2 separate regions of the Homo sapiens genome follow, and region 2 is linked to region 1. The links are contacts of gene promoters, found by promoter capture Hi-C in blood cells and fetal thymus (Javierre and others, 2016). All regions are on one chromosome and are shown on one strand. The core of a region is centred on a gene start or on the middle of the fragment in contact, and the rest is flanking DNA. Distances in the headings are between cores, read along the strand shown.

Evidence for each region. The method cuts DNA at HindIII sites, captures the fragments that hold promoters and counts their contacts. A CHiCAGO score of 5 or more calls a contact.
Region 2: a contact is called between a fragment that was not itself captured here and the fragment with the promoter of MRPL4 in region 1, in 6 of 17 cell types (M0 macrophages, activated CD4 T cells, naive CD8 T cells and 3 more). The highest score is 6.9, in M0 macrophages.

The regions. Positions count from the first base shown.
Region 1 is chr19:10,250,452-10,257,073 of GRCh38, reverse strand. MRPL4 (mitochondrial ribosomal protein L4) reads right to left here and starts at 4,860. Exons shown (of 9, transcript NM_015956.3): 1 at 4,764-4,860; 2 at 4,611-4,677; 3 at 4,373-4,523; 4 at 2,434-2,485; 5 at 249-366. The coding sequence starts at 4,820. RefSeq lists enhancers at 4,358-4,931, 4,788-5,197, 5,328-5,477, 4,932-5,505. The HindIII fragment of the contact is 20,723 bases long and covers 1-6,622 here.
Region 2 is chr19:10,140,448-10,146,805 of GRCh38, reverse strand. DNMT1 (DNA methyltransferase 1) reads left to right here. Exons shown (of 41, transcript NM_001130823.3): 28 at 282-455; 29 at 2,819-3,040; 30 at 4,586-4,778; 31 at 5,617-5,701; 32 at 5,897-6,025. Among named protein-coding and RNA genes, the nearest start is that of EIF3G, 24 kb to the right of the region's middle. The HindIII fragment of the contact is 1,927 bases long and covers 3,715-5,641 here.

The sequences.
Region 1 (6,622 bases), core at 3,611-6,110:
CCACAGGCTGAAGAGACAGGGCATGCGAGAGGGAGGAGTGGATGGCTCCCAGATCTCTGTCCCCTTATATGGGTAGTGAGGTCCAAGGGCCTCAGTTCCGATGTCACCAGCCCAGGTGGTTCCATGAGGTGGAGGGAACAGGGCTGACATAATACCATGCCAGATGTGCGCAGCTGTGTGTGAGTAAACACCCAGGCCCTTCCCTGGCCCCCCCACCCCTCCCCGCCCCCTCCACCCTGTCCTGTTACCTCCTCGCCAGAGCGGAGAGCGGATGCTGCCATGCCGGGCCCGCCCAGTGCCTTTCTGCGGCCAAGGCTTCCGGCCACCGCCCCGCACCTCGGCTCTCGTCTTGGTCTTGGCATAGCTCTGGAGGCACAAAGAGGAGGGGGGTCAGGTCCACGAGGCAGGTGTCAGGGAGCCGGGCAGATCAGTCCTGCCACGGGGAAGTCAGACAGGAGGCACCATGATGACGGGCTCTCTCTGGCCAAGCACAGAGTACTTGGGGAGCGAGGGGGAGGGTAAAGAAGTCACAGCTCCTGCCCCATGCCAGCCTCACAAAGGCAGGGGCCCTGCCACCGGGCACGCAGGGGGTGCTCGGTATTTTCTGAACTATTGATTTTTTTTTTTGAGGCAGTCTCACTCTGTCACCCAGGCTGTGGAGTGCAAGTGGTGTGACCTTGGCTCACTGCAACCTCTGATTCCTAGATTCAAGCGATTCTCCTGCCTCAGCCTCCCTAGTAGCTGAGATTACGGGTGCCTGTCACCATGCCCGGCTAATTTTTTTTTTTGAGATGGAGTCTCGCTCTGTCGCCCACGCTGGAGTGCAGTGGCGCGATCTCGGCTCACTGCAACCTCCGCCTCCCAGGTTCAAGCAATTCTCCTGTCTCAGCCTCCAGAGTAGCTGGGACTACAGGCGCCCGCTGCCACACCCAACTAATATTTGTATTTTTAGTAGAGATGGGGTTTCACCATATTGGTCAGGCTGGTCTCGATCTCCCGACCTCGTGATCCATCCGCCTCGGCCTCCCAAAGTACTGGGATTACAGGTGTGAGCCACCGCACCTGGCCCCAGCTAATTTTTTGTATTTTCAGTAGAGATGGGGTTTTGCCACGTTGACTAGGCTGGTTTGGAACTCCTGGCCTCAAGTGATCCACCTGCCTTGGCCTCCCAAAGTGCTGAGATTACAGGTGTGAGCCACCGTGCCGGCCTATTTTTTGAACAATTTTAATGTGGTTGTAGCCACAAGGAGGGAGGGCCATGGGAAATGACACAGACAGGGAGAATCAGGAAAGAGGAGCAGGGCAAGGAAATCAGGAAGAACTCAGAATAGCAGACTGATGACTTTATTCCTAGGGTGATGGGGAGCCAGGGAAGGTGTGAGCAGGGGGAGGACTGGCCAGACCTCTGGGGTGGATGGATAAGACCCTGACTGGTAATGGATTCTTCAATGTTCTTGGCACAAAACCCAGACTCCTCCCCACTGCTCCCACTGGCCTCTGTGGCAACACTGGCTTCCTTGTGGTCCCTGCCACAGGGCCTTTGCACACCCTGTTCCTGTTATCTCCACACTAGCCCCACTGCCTCCTTGATCTGGTTAGCTTCTACAGTAGACCCAAGGTTGAACGTCCCATTCTCTGGGACATGCTCATAATTACACATTACGTATGACCATCTGACTCACCTTCACTTCTCCTCCCATGACACTGTGACCTTCATTAGAATAGGGACTTTGCCCATCTTTTTCTTGGGGTTGTGGGGGAAGGGGTAGAGACTGGGTCTTGCTGTTTCCCAGGCTGGTCTTTCCTGGCCCCAAGCAACCCACCCACCTCAGCTTCCAGTGCTGGGATTACAGGCCTGAGCCACTTGCACACAGCCGGACCTTGCCTGTTTTGTCCTCGTGGTCCCTGCTATATCCTCTCACCCACCACAATGCCCACATCAGTGAGTGATCAGAAAACAACTGAAAATGAGCTGGGCACGGTGGCTCACGCCTGTAATCCCAGCACTTTGGGAGGCCAAGGCAGGTAGGTTCCTTGAGGTCAGGAGTTTGAGACCAGCCTGACCAACATGGTGAAACTCCATCTCTACTAAAAATACAAAAATTAGCCTGCATGGTGGTGCACACCTGTAATCCCAGCTACTCAGGAGGCAGAGGCAGGAGAATCGCTTGAACCCAGGAAGCGGAGGTTGCAGTGAACCAAGATTGCGCCACTGCACTCCAGCCTGGGTGACAGAGTGAGACTCCATCTCCATCTCAAAAACAAACAAAAAAAAGAGAACCAAAAATGGACCCATCGGTGAATAGTTCAGGAGACAGATGAGGCCCCAGCCGAGCAGTCCAGAGAAAACCCAGCGATGGGCTTCCTCTGGGTCCTATCCCCAACCTCCCCAGGAAGCTCCTTCCCACCACCTTGCTCCATTTAGGCACTCACAATTCTCTTGAAGTTCTTCTGCCACATAGCAACCTGGTGCAGTATGTCCAGCCTGCGGGGAGGAAGGACACATGAGAAGCCCAACTCTGCTTCAAACGCTCCCACCCCACTATAGGAAAACCCAGGATTCTCCCTTCTGCCTCCAGGGCCCTGGGCGATTTGCCTCTGCCCCTCACTGACCCCATCTTGAAATTCTGCCTCAGGGCCTTGGCACTTGCTGTTCCCTCTGCCTGAAACACTCTTCTCCTGGATGGTTCTTTCTCAGCCTACAGGTAGCAGCTCCAATAACTGCTGAAAGGTACCTTCTAAAGAAAGAGCCACCCTGACCAGGTGCAGTGGCTCATGCCTGGAATCCTGGCACTTTGGGAGGCCAAGGCAGGTGGATCACTTGAGGCAAGGAGTAAGACCAGCCTGGGCAACATGGCAAAGTGATGTCTCTCCAAAATATACAAAGATTAGCTGGGCACGGTGGTACATGTCTGTCATTCTGGCTACTCGGGAGGCTGAGGCATGAGAATTAGTAGAACCCAGGAGGCGGAGGTTGAAGTGAGCTGAGAGCATGCCATTGCACTCCAGCCTGGGCGACAAGAGCGAAACTTCATCTCAGAAAAAAAAAGCCACCCCTTCTTCCTTGTTTTTCCTACCATTACTTTTTTCCTGCTATTACACTTCACTTATTGCCACCTTCTTCAGGGACTGGTTTTCCTCTCTAGTTCTATACCATTCCATACAGTCACATACTCAACATCTGAAACATGGCCAGTGCCCCATGCTACAATGTGATTTCGACATAGTTTTAAATACAGGTTAAATACATTATTGAAATCAATTTCACCTGTTTTTTTTTTTGAGATGGAGTCTGTCTCTGTCGCCCAGGCTGGAGTGCAGTAGTATAATCACGGCTCACTGCAACCTCCATCTCCCCAGGTGCAAGCGATTCTCATGCCTCAGCCTCCTGAGTAGCTGGGACTACAGGCTTGCACTAAGACGTCCGGCTAATTTTTGTATTTTTGGTAGAGACGGGGTTTCATCATGTTGGCCAGGCTGGTCTGCAACTCCTGGTTTCAAGTGATCCGCCCACCTCGGCCTCCCAATGTGCTGGGATTACAGATGTGAGCCACAGTAACTGGCCCCTACATTTTCTTTTCTTTCTTTTTTTTTTTTTTTTTTGAGACAGAGTGTTGCCCAGGATGGAGTGCAGTGGCGCGATCTCGGCTCACTGCAAGCTCCGCCTCCCGGGTTCACGCCATTCTCTTGCCTCAGCCTCCAGAGTACCTGGGACTACAGACGCCCGCCACCACGCCCGGCTAATTTTTTTTTGTATTTTTAGTAGAGACGGGGTTTCACCATGTTAGCCAGGATGGTCTCGATCTCCTGACCTCGTGATCCGCCCGCCTTGGCCTCCCAAAGTGCTGGGATTACAGGCGTGAGCCACTGCGCCCAGGGTGGCCCCTACATTTTCTTAGAGATGTTATGAACAGCAGGGTAACTAAAATGCAAACAGCCTCTTCCAGGCACCGAGGAATGGTTTAGTCTTTTTAGTGCTCTTATTTGCAAAAACCAGTTAACAAAGATTATCAACATTTCTATAGAACTTATTATGTGCCAGAATTAAGTCATTTATTCATCACAGCAACCTCCCGACCGCTGACAAAATAGGGACACTGAGGGACAAGAGGGGAAGGCAGGATTTGAACCTAATCAGTCGGGCTCCAGAATTCTGTCTCCCTAACCCTTAGATGATGTCACCTCTCAGGCTTCAATCTCACACAGCGCTACAGCAGGGGAAACTGTCATCATTCCCCTTTGACAGGTGGAGAAACGGAGGCTGTAGAAATACAGCACTTTCCCAAGGGTACAAGCCCAAAGTCATCGTGACTCCTGAAATCCCGCTCTTCATCCCTCTGCCACTCAGTTCACCATTACAGCCCTCGCTCACCTGGGCGCGGTGGCGAAAACATCGGGGTGCAGGTCGGCCAGGCCCACGCGCTCCTGCTCGAAGCCCCGCAAGGACTCGACCCAGGCCTGCACTGGGCGTCGATGAGTGGGTACCGGGAGCTCGACTTTGCGCAGCACGGGCTCCGGGAGACCTGGAGCGATTGCGGGGGTCAGAGGTTAGGGTCAAGGGTCAGACCTCTCTGTCGCCGCCCCTCCTGGAGCCACCCCGGTTGCCTTACCCTCGCTCGCCACCTGCTCCGGGTTCTCGGTCGCACGCGCTGCCTCTTCCGCCAGGGAACTCAGGCCCTGCAAGGGTTGGGCGAAAGTGAGAGACGACCCCTGGACACCCCCAAATTTCATCCTTCGACCACGCCTCCAGCCCCTGGCCTCACCTGGCTGCCGGTAGGCCGAAGCCAGGCCCGCGCCCCGGCCCGGACGAACTGCAGCATCGCCGCGCAGCCTCCCACGCCGCGGGAGGTCAAGGCCACTGGAGCCTCGCGAGGCGCCGCTGGATGACGTCACGCACGCGACGCCGCCCTACCCGCCGCGACTCCGCGCTGGAAAGCGGGGTGTGCAAAACCGAAGATGGAGGGGGTCCGACCCGGCGTGCCCAGACCTCCACCCCAGGACTAACCCCCAGACCCAATTTTCACTCCTGCCTCAAGGACCCTCCGTAACACTGGGGAACGCGACCTCACAGCAAGAAGACCCAGCTTCCGTAGGCCTAGCCTACTTTGGGTCCCGCCTCCGACGAGCCGGTGCAGGAATTCAGCCAATGAGACCTCTCTGGCCCAATTCAGCCAATGACTGTTAAGCCTGAAGGAGTGACCCCCGCCCATAAGTGGGCAGTTCTGGAGTGAGCAACTAAGGAATACAGCCAATAACGCTTAAACTTTTGCTGTTGGTCACGCCCACCGGGCCACGCCTTCATCCCGCCTCCAAGGCTGTCGGAGATGGTTTTTTCTTTATCCAGTTATGTGGTTTTGTTTTTTTATTTGTTTTTTTGTTTTTGTTTTTGTTTTTGTTTTTGTTTTTTTTGAGACGGAGTCTTGCTCTGTTGCCCAGGCTGGAGTGCAGTGGCGCGATCTCGGCTCACTGCAAGCTCCGCCTCCTGGGTTCACGCCATTCTCCTGCCTCAGCCTCCCGAGTAGCTGGGACTGCAGGCGCCCGCCACCACGCCTGGCTAATTTTTTGTATTTTTAGTAGAGACGGGTATCACCGCGTTAGCCAGGATGGTCTCGATCTCCTGACCTCGTGATCCTCCCGCCTCAGCCTTCCAAAGTGCTGGGATTACAGGCGTGAGCCACCGTGCCTGGCGTTTTTTCATTTGTTTAAAGGCAGGGCCTTATTGCCCTCAGAAAGCCTTCAGGATTGGGCCTGCCAGACCATGCCTCCCAGTTTAGATTCCCCAGGGCAGGGCCATGTCCCCCCGAAACCCCTCAGATTAGGTATTTGTGTCCCTTACCCCCTAGACCAGGGTCCTCTCCCCTACCCCCTTAAACCAGGTCCCGTCCCCTCTCAGACCTTCCAGGGCTCTCCAAGGACAGAACAAAGTGGGGAGTCCACAGATCCTGGAGTGCCTCCCTTGTCGCCCCCTAACAAATCCGAATGCTTATTTTTAGTTTCTTTGTTTTGGTTTTTAGAGACAAGGTCTTCCTCTGTCGCCCAGGCTGGAGTGCAATGGGCAAGATCATGGCTTACTGCAGCCTCGACCTCCAGAGCTCAAGGGATTCTCCTGCCTCTGTCTCCTGAGTAGCTGGTCTACAGGTACGCAAGCCCGGCTCATTTTTGTATTGTATTTTTTTATTTTGTATTTGTATTTTGAGATGGAGTATCGCTCTGTCGCCCAGGCCGGAGTGCAGTGGTGTGAGATCGCACATCTCGGCCTCCCGGGTTCAAGCGATTCCCTGCCTCAGCTTACCGAGTAGCTGGGACTACAGGCGCCCGCCACCACACCTGGCTAACTTTTTGTATTTTTAGTAGAGAGGGGGTTTCACCGTGTTAGCCAGGATGGTCTCAATCTCCTGACCTCGTGATCCGCCCGCCTCGGCTTCCCAAAGTGCTGGGATTACAGGCGTGAGCCACCGAGCCCGGCCCTAATTTTCGTGTTTTTATTAGAGACAGTGTGGCACCACGTTGGCCAGGCTGGTCTTGAACTCCTGACCTCAGGTGATCCACCCGCCTCGGCCTCCCAAAGTGCTGGGATTACAGGCCTGAGCCACCGCGCCCGGCCTAATTTTTTTTTTGTAGA
Region 2 (6,358 bases), core at 3,429-5,928, 110 kb after region 1:
TTAACCATATTCTAGACCCTGTTCATTGATATCTTAGGGTTTTTGTCTCAATGACTCAAAAGTTGCCTGATTTTCTTGCTATGTTCTCTCTGGGCTTTGGTCTCAAATAAGTGCCTTCAAAATGTCAACACAAAGCACAAGAAAGCCACCTCTTCCTTCTAGCATCTGCAAATGTTTTTTCCTCTTGGTTACCAGAGTCTCTGGATTAAGCTGGCAGTAGCTGCTGCGGCCACTGCCGGCCACCTCAGGGCCTTATGTTTCTGTCCCTTTGTTTCCTTCAGATTCTGTGTGAGCTGTGCCCGTCTGGCTGAGATGAGGCAAAAAGAAATCCCCAGGGTCCTGGAGCAGCTCGAGGACCTGGATAGCCGGGTCCTCTACTACTCAGCCACCAAGAACGGCATCCTGTACCGAGTTGGTGATGGTGTGTACCTGCCCCCTGAGGCCTTCACGTTCAAGTAAGTGCCCCCTCGGAGCAGCCGGGGCCAGGGCGCTCCAGGCTGAGCCAGGCTGGCTTTGTGGTGTCCCCCTCCTTACAGACATTGCCAATCCCTCCGCACCAGCTGTTGTCCTAGCCGTCACGTTGGCATAGGTGGCAAACAGACAACATAAATCGTGTAGACTGACCATGATGCTATTGCAGAGCAAAGCTGAGCGTAAAAGTCAACTCGCTGGTTTGGCTGGGTGTGGTTTCTCACGCCTGTAATCCCAGCGCTTTGGGAGGCCGAGGCAGTGGGGAATCATCTGAGGTCAGGAGTCTGAGACCAGCCTGGCCAACATGGTGAAACCTCGTCTCTACTAAAAATACAAAAATTAGCCGGGTGTGGTGGTGCGCGCCTGTAGTCCCAGCTACTCGAGAGGCAGAGACAGGAGAATCACTTGAACCTGGGAGGCAGAGGTTGCAGTGAGCCAAGATCATGCCACTGCACTCCATCCTGGGCAACAGAGTGTGACTCCGTCTCAAAATAAAAAAAGAAAAAAAAAGAACTTACTGGATAAAGCGCGAGGGACAGCTGGGGGCCCACCCCCAAGTTCTGCCTCTGCCCAAGGACACCTCCTCTCCGTCCCCTACTGTGAAGTGGGAGAGTGGGATCTTGCCTGCTGGGGCTCGAAGGGTTGAGTGAGTTGAAAGTGCTCCATACAGTACCTGGCTTAAAGTAAAGGTTTAACGGACATGAGTTACTTCTTGGTTAGAGGGAATCACATCAGATGACTTCTCTGTGTCAGAGGATCGAGGCTCTTCCAGGAAAAACCTAAAGCCACAGATCGTTTCCACACTGATCCATTCTGTGTTTTTTCTAAGAATCAGCGTGTGGTTGGAATTACAGCCAACGTTTTCCAGATGCCTTCCCGGCTCACAATTCCATTTCCTTAGAGCCCCAGCTCCCTTGCCTTAGTTCAGTTACTGTGAATTATGAGAACTGGAGAAGCAGGTTCCCTCCAGCCTTGGCACAGTTGGGGCGCGTTACCCCCTCTGGTTGTCCTTGGTGGGAAGGGGACACCTCCCCGTAGTGTTTTCTGCCAGTTGCTCCTGGCAAAGTGGGAGAGTCAGCACAGAGACGCCTTTGGGGCCCGTCAGACTCCTGGGGGGCCTAGTGGGGAGAACGTGACAGCTGACTTCCCTAACGGCAGGCCTTCTTCAAAGAACAGCTTTTCCACACTAGTCAGACCACACTCCCATTGTCCCAGGCCCTGTGGCGCCTTACATTGGCCTCCAGTGTCGCTTCTAGATCAGAGCCTTAGTCAGGGTAGCGTAGGTTGTATCATAGCAACAACCCCAAATCACAGTGACTTAAAACCACAGAAGCTGGACTGGGTGCGGTGGCTCATGCCTGTCAGGAGTTCAAGACCAAGACCAGCCTGGCCGACATACCTGTCTCTACTAAAAATAAATTAGCCAGGGTTAGCTGGGTGTGGTGGTGGGCACCTGTAATCCCAGCTACTTGGGAGGCCGAGGCACGAGAATCGCTTGAACCTGGGAGGAGGAGTTGCAGTGAGCCGAGATTGTGCCACTGCACTCTAACCTGGGTGACAGAGTGAAACTCTCTCAACAAAAACCACGGTAGCCGCTGTCTCGCTCATACGAGGTGCCCATCACAGGTCAGCAGAGGACTCCACCTGTTGTGTCCCTTGGATATCTGGGCCGCTGGAGTCAGAAGTTGCCAGTGTTTGAGCCCAAGGGAAAGCACACAGGACATTCCCCAGGCAGTGACATCCTCTTTGGTCACTTCTGCCCACGTCACATGCCAGGAAACACAAGATGCCAAGTAGTCGGGAGGCAGGAGCCTGGGGTATTTGAGCAGTGTCAGCCACCACCGTAGCCAGTAATGCGCAGAGGGTGAATGCGTGCTTCAAACTGTGAGACTAAATCTGCAGCTAAATCTTTTTTTTTTTTTTCTGTGAGATGGAGTCTTGCTCTGTCACACAGGCTGGAGTGCAGTGGCACAATCTCAGCTCACTGCAACCTCTGCCTCCTGGGTTCAAGCAATTCTCCTGCCTCAGCCTCCCAAGTAGCTGGAATTATAGGCATGTACCACCACACCCGGCTAATTTTTGTATTTTTAGTAGAGACAGGGTTTTACCGTGTTGGCCAGGGTGGTCTCGAACTTCTGACCTTGTGGTCCACCTGCCTTGGTCTCCCAAAGTGCTGGGATTACAGGCGTGAGCCACAATGCCCAGCCTAAATCATTTCTTAGGGTACACACCTACCTTAATTCATCAGGTGCTTGACTTTAAATGGTTATTTTCACTGGTCAGTCATGCCTGACTGACCACTGCAAGGTGGAAGGTTCATTGATGTCAAGTGGGTGCTTCTCTGCAGCATCAAGCTGTCCAGTCCCGTGAAACGCCCACGGAAGGAGCCCGTGGATGAGGACCTGTACCCAGAGCACTACCGGAAATACTCCGACTACATCAAAGGCAGCAACCTGGATGCCCCTGAGCCCTACCGAATTGGCCGGATCAAAGAGATCTTCTGTCCCAAGAAGAGCAACGGCAGGCCCAATGAGACTGACATCAAAATCCGGGTCAACAAGTTCTACAGGTCAGCAGAGGCCTCTGTTCTTCCACGAGGCCACAGACTCTTCTAGAAGGCTCTGCCTGAAACAAGGTTGTGGCATAGCACCCACAGTTGTTCTAAGAGTTAGGTTGAAGTAGCTGTTTTTCCAAGTGTTTCTGATTATCGGTGGGCACTGATAATGACTAGAATTCTAGTTCCCAGCCCTCACTTTTAGGTCCTTATTTTAATGTTGCAGAGCCCTTTTTCCAAAAGAAATCCTTAAGCTGGCTGGGCACTGTAGCTCACGCCTCTAATCCTAGCACTTTGGGAGGCTGAGGCAGGAAGATCACTTGAGTCTAGGAGTTCAAGACCAGCTTGAGGAAACGTAGTGAGACCCCGGCCCTACCAAAAAAAAAAAAAAAAAAAGACTAGCTGGGCGTGGTGGCACACGCCTGTAATCCCAGCTACTTGGGAGGCTGAGGCTGAAGGGATCACTGAAACCCAGGAATTTGAGGCTGTAGTGAGCCATGATCCCACCACTGCACTCCGGCCTGGGTGACAGCCAGACCCCGTCTCAAAAGAAAAAACGGGTAGAGTGCCTGGGCACCCCCAGAGAACCTCCCAAGCTCCATCTATGACTGTCCAGGTTCTGTCCCGCTGTCCCCACCTCTTCCCAGGTCCTCCTTTCTGTCTCTGGGATTTTTTCTCTTTCCTAAGCTTTTGGCCTATTACGTTTTCTTTTTCTAAGACCCGAGTAACTTGCGGTGATTAGGCATTAACCTGAAACTAGCCTGTACAGGAAGCTATACACTTGCCTCACCTCTTAGCTAACATAGATCAAAGATTTCCTGAAGCCTTTGTAATAACAGGAAATAAAACAAGGGCTGTGAGTGGTACAGGTGAGAGAAACACACTCGAGAGGCTGCTACCGGCAGGCGGACACAGCAGGGCAGGGCCAGGCGTGCAGAGCAAGCAGCCAAGCTGACCTAATGGTTGGGGGGTCTCTACCCTGTGGTTCCCTAATTGGGGGCGAATCTACCTTGCAGTTCCCTCATTTGGGGAGGGGTTATCTTTACCTGCGGTTCCCTAAGTAGGGGGGTCTTTACCCTATGACTCCCTAACTGGGGAGGTCTTTACCCTGCGGTTCCATAACTGGGGGGTCTTTACCCTGCGGTTCCCAACTGGGTCGGGGGTCATTACCTGGCGGTTCCCTAATTGTGGGGGAATCTACCTTGCAGTTCCCTAATGTGAGGAGGGGATATCTTTACCCTGTGATTCCCTTACTGGGAGGGGTCTTTACCCTGCGATTCCCTAACTTGGGGGATCTTTACCCTGTGGTTCCCTAACTAGGGGGGGTCTTTACCCTGCAGTTCCCTAAATGGGGGGGAGTCTACCTTGCAGTTCCCCAGTGTGGGGAGGAGATATCTTTACCCTGCAGTTCCCTAACTGAGGGGGTCTTTACCCTGCGGTTCTCGAACTAGGGGGTCTTTACCCTGCAGTTCCCTGAGCACCCCAGGAACATGGTACTGTTTAATTCAGCATAAGCTCACCACAAAGGAGAGCTCCTAACGAGGCCTCTCCCGCTCGCAGGCCTGAGAACACCCACAAGTCCACTCCAGCGAGCTACCACGCAGACATCAACCTGCTCTACTGGAGCGACGAGGAGGCCGTGGTGGACTTCAAGGCTGTGCAGGGCCGCTGCACCGTGGAGTATGGGGAGGACCTGCCCGAGTGCGTCCAGGTGTACTCCATGGGCGGCCCCAACCGCTTCTACTTCCTCGAGGTGGTGCCCCTGCTTGCTAGAGGGAAGGCTTCGGGGTCAAAGTTGGCCAGAAGGAGTCTGATGTCGGGTTATACACAAGGCGGCTTGGCTGCAGGGTTTCAGCTTTTGTAAGAAGTGGGTGGTTGGCTGACGTGAAGCTGTTCTGCAGGAGCTTTACGGGGGTCTGAGCAGGGTTCTCCAGAGCACAAGTTGTATGAGATTCAAGTGGTCCCGGAGTTTAACACTCCTGGTTTTTAAAAAGTACGTCATTAGAGAACCTAACGTTTTAGTGTCTTGGTGCAACTGAACGTTGAGGACCATGAGGCAGCTTCCACCAGCCTGACTGGTGTCTTAGTATGAGTTGGAGAAGGTGCCCCTGCTCCTGGGTCCCTTGGGCCAGGCGCCTACGTCCAGGCCCAGCCCACATGCCTGTGCGGGTGGCCCTCGTTATGGAGAGGGCCCACGAGTCAGCTGATCAAGCTCATGACTTGTAAATTGTTGGGGCTTGGCCTTTCCGTGTTGTTACCTTAAAACGATACATCCACGTTCTCCCAGGCATGGATGAGGTAGCCCAATTGGACAGCAGATTCTGCATAGCACTTTTTCCTGTTCTAGAAGGTACTCTCAAGTGCTTGTAATAGGCATTTCAGTGTCAGCCAGATCAAATGTTAGTATTAATAAAATGGATTGTTTTAAGTTTCTATTGTAGCAAAGTCAAACTACTCTTATTGGTGGCTAATTGGTCATGGCCCCACTGAGGGAGAAATTAAGTGACTATCAAATTGCCTTCTTACTAGTCTGCGTTAGAGAGGGGACAGTGCGTTTCTCTCCCAAACGATTGCAGTTCTCTCCTTTTCAGGCCTATAATGCAAAGAGCAAAAGCTTTGAAGATCCTCCCAACCATGCCCGTAGCCCTGGAAACAAAGGGAAGGGCAAGGGAAAAGGTACGTCATTGTATGAGTTTCTTTTCAAGTTATTCTTCTGTAACTTGGAGGCTGCCTGTGAATCCCTCAGTGTAAAACCACCTCTGGTGTTACTGACTCTGGGACAGCGAGGCCGCCTGAGTTAACAAGGCGCTTGAGAGCAAGGTGGACTTGGACTCTGAGGATCGGGTTTAGCCTCTGGCCTCTCTCCCCCAGGGAAGGGCAAGCCCAAGTCCCAAGCCTGTGAGCCGAGCGAGCCAGAGATAGAGATCAAGCTGCCCAAGCTGCGGACCCTGGATGTGTTTTCTGGCTGCGGGGGGTTGTCGGAGGGATTCCACCAAGCAGGTGAGCGCCCGTAGGCTCCATCTCTGAATACCTGGTGAGCCCAGACCGGGCAGGTGCTACCTGAAACGACTTCCAACCCCGGTCACCTTCCTGACTCAAGAATCTCCTTCCGAGGCCAGGCACGGTGGCGCACGCCTGTAATCCCAGCACTTTGGGAGGCCGAGGTGGGTGGATCATGAGGTCAGGAGTTTGAGACCATCCTGGCCAACATGGTGAAACCCCGTCTCTAATAAGAATACAAAAATTAGCTGGGCGTGGTGGTGTGTGCCTGTAGTCCCAGCTACTCAGGAGGCTGAGGTGGGAGAATCGCTTGAACCTGGGAGGCAGAGCTTG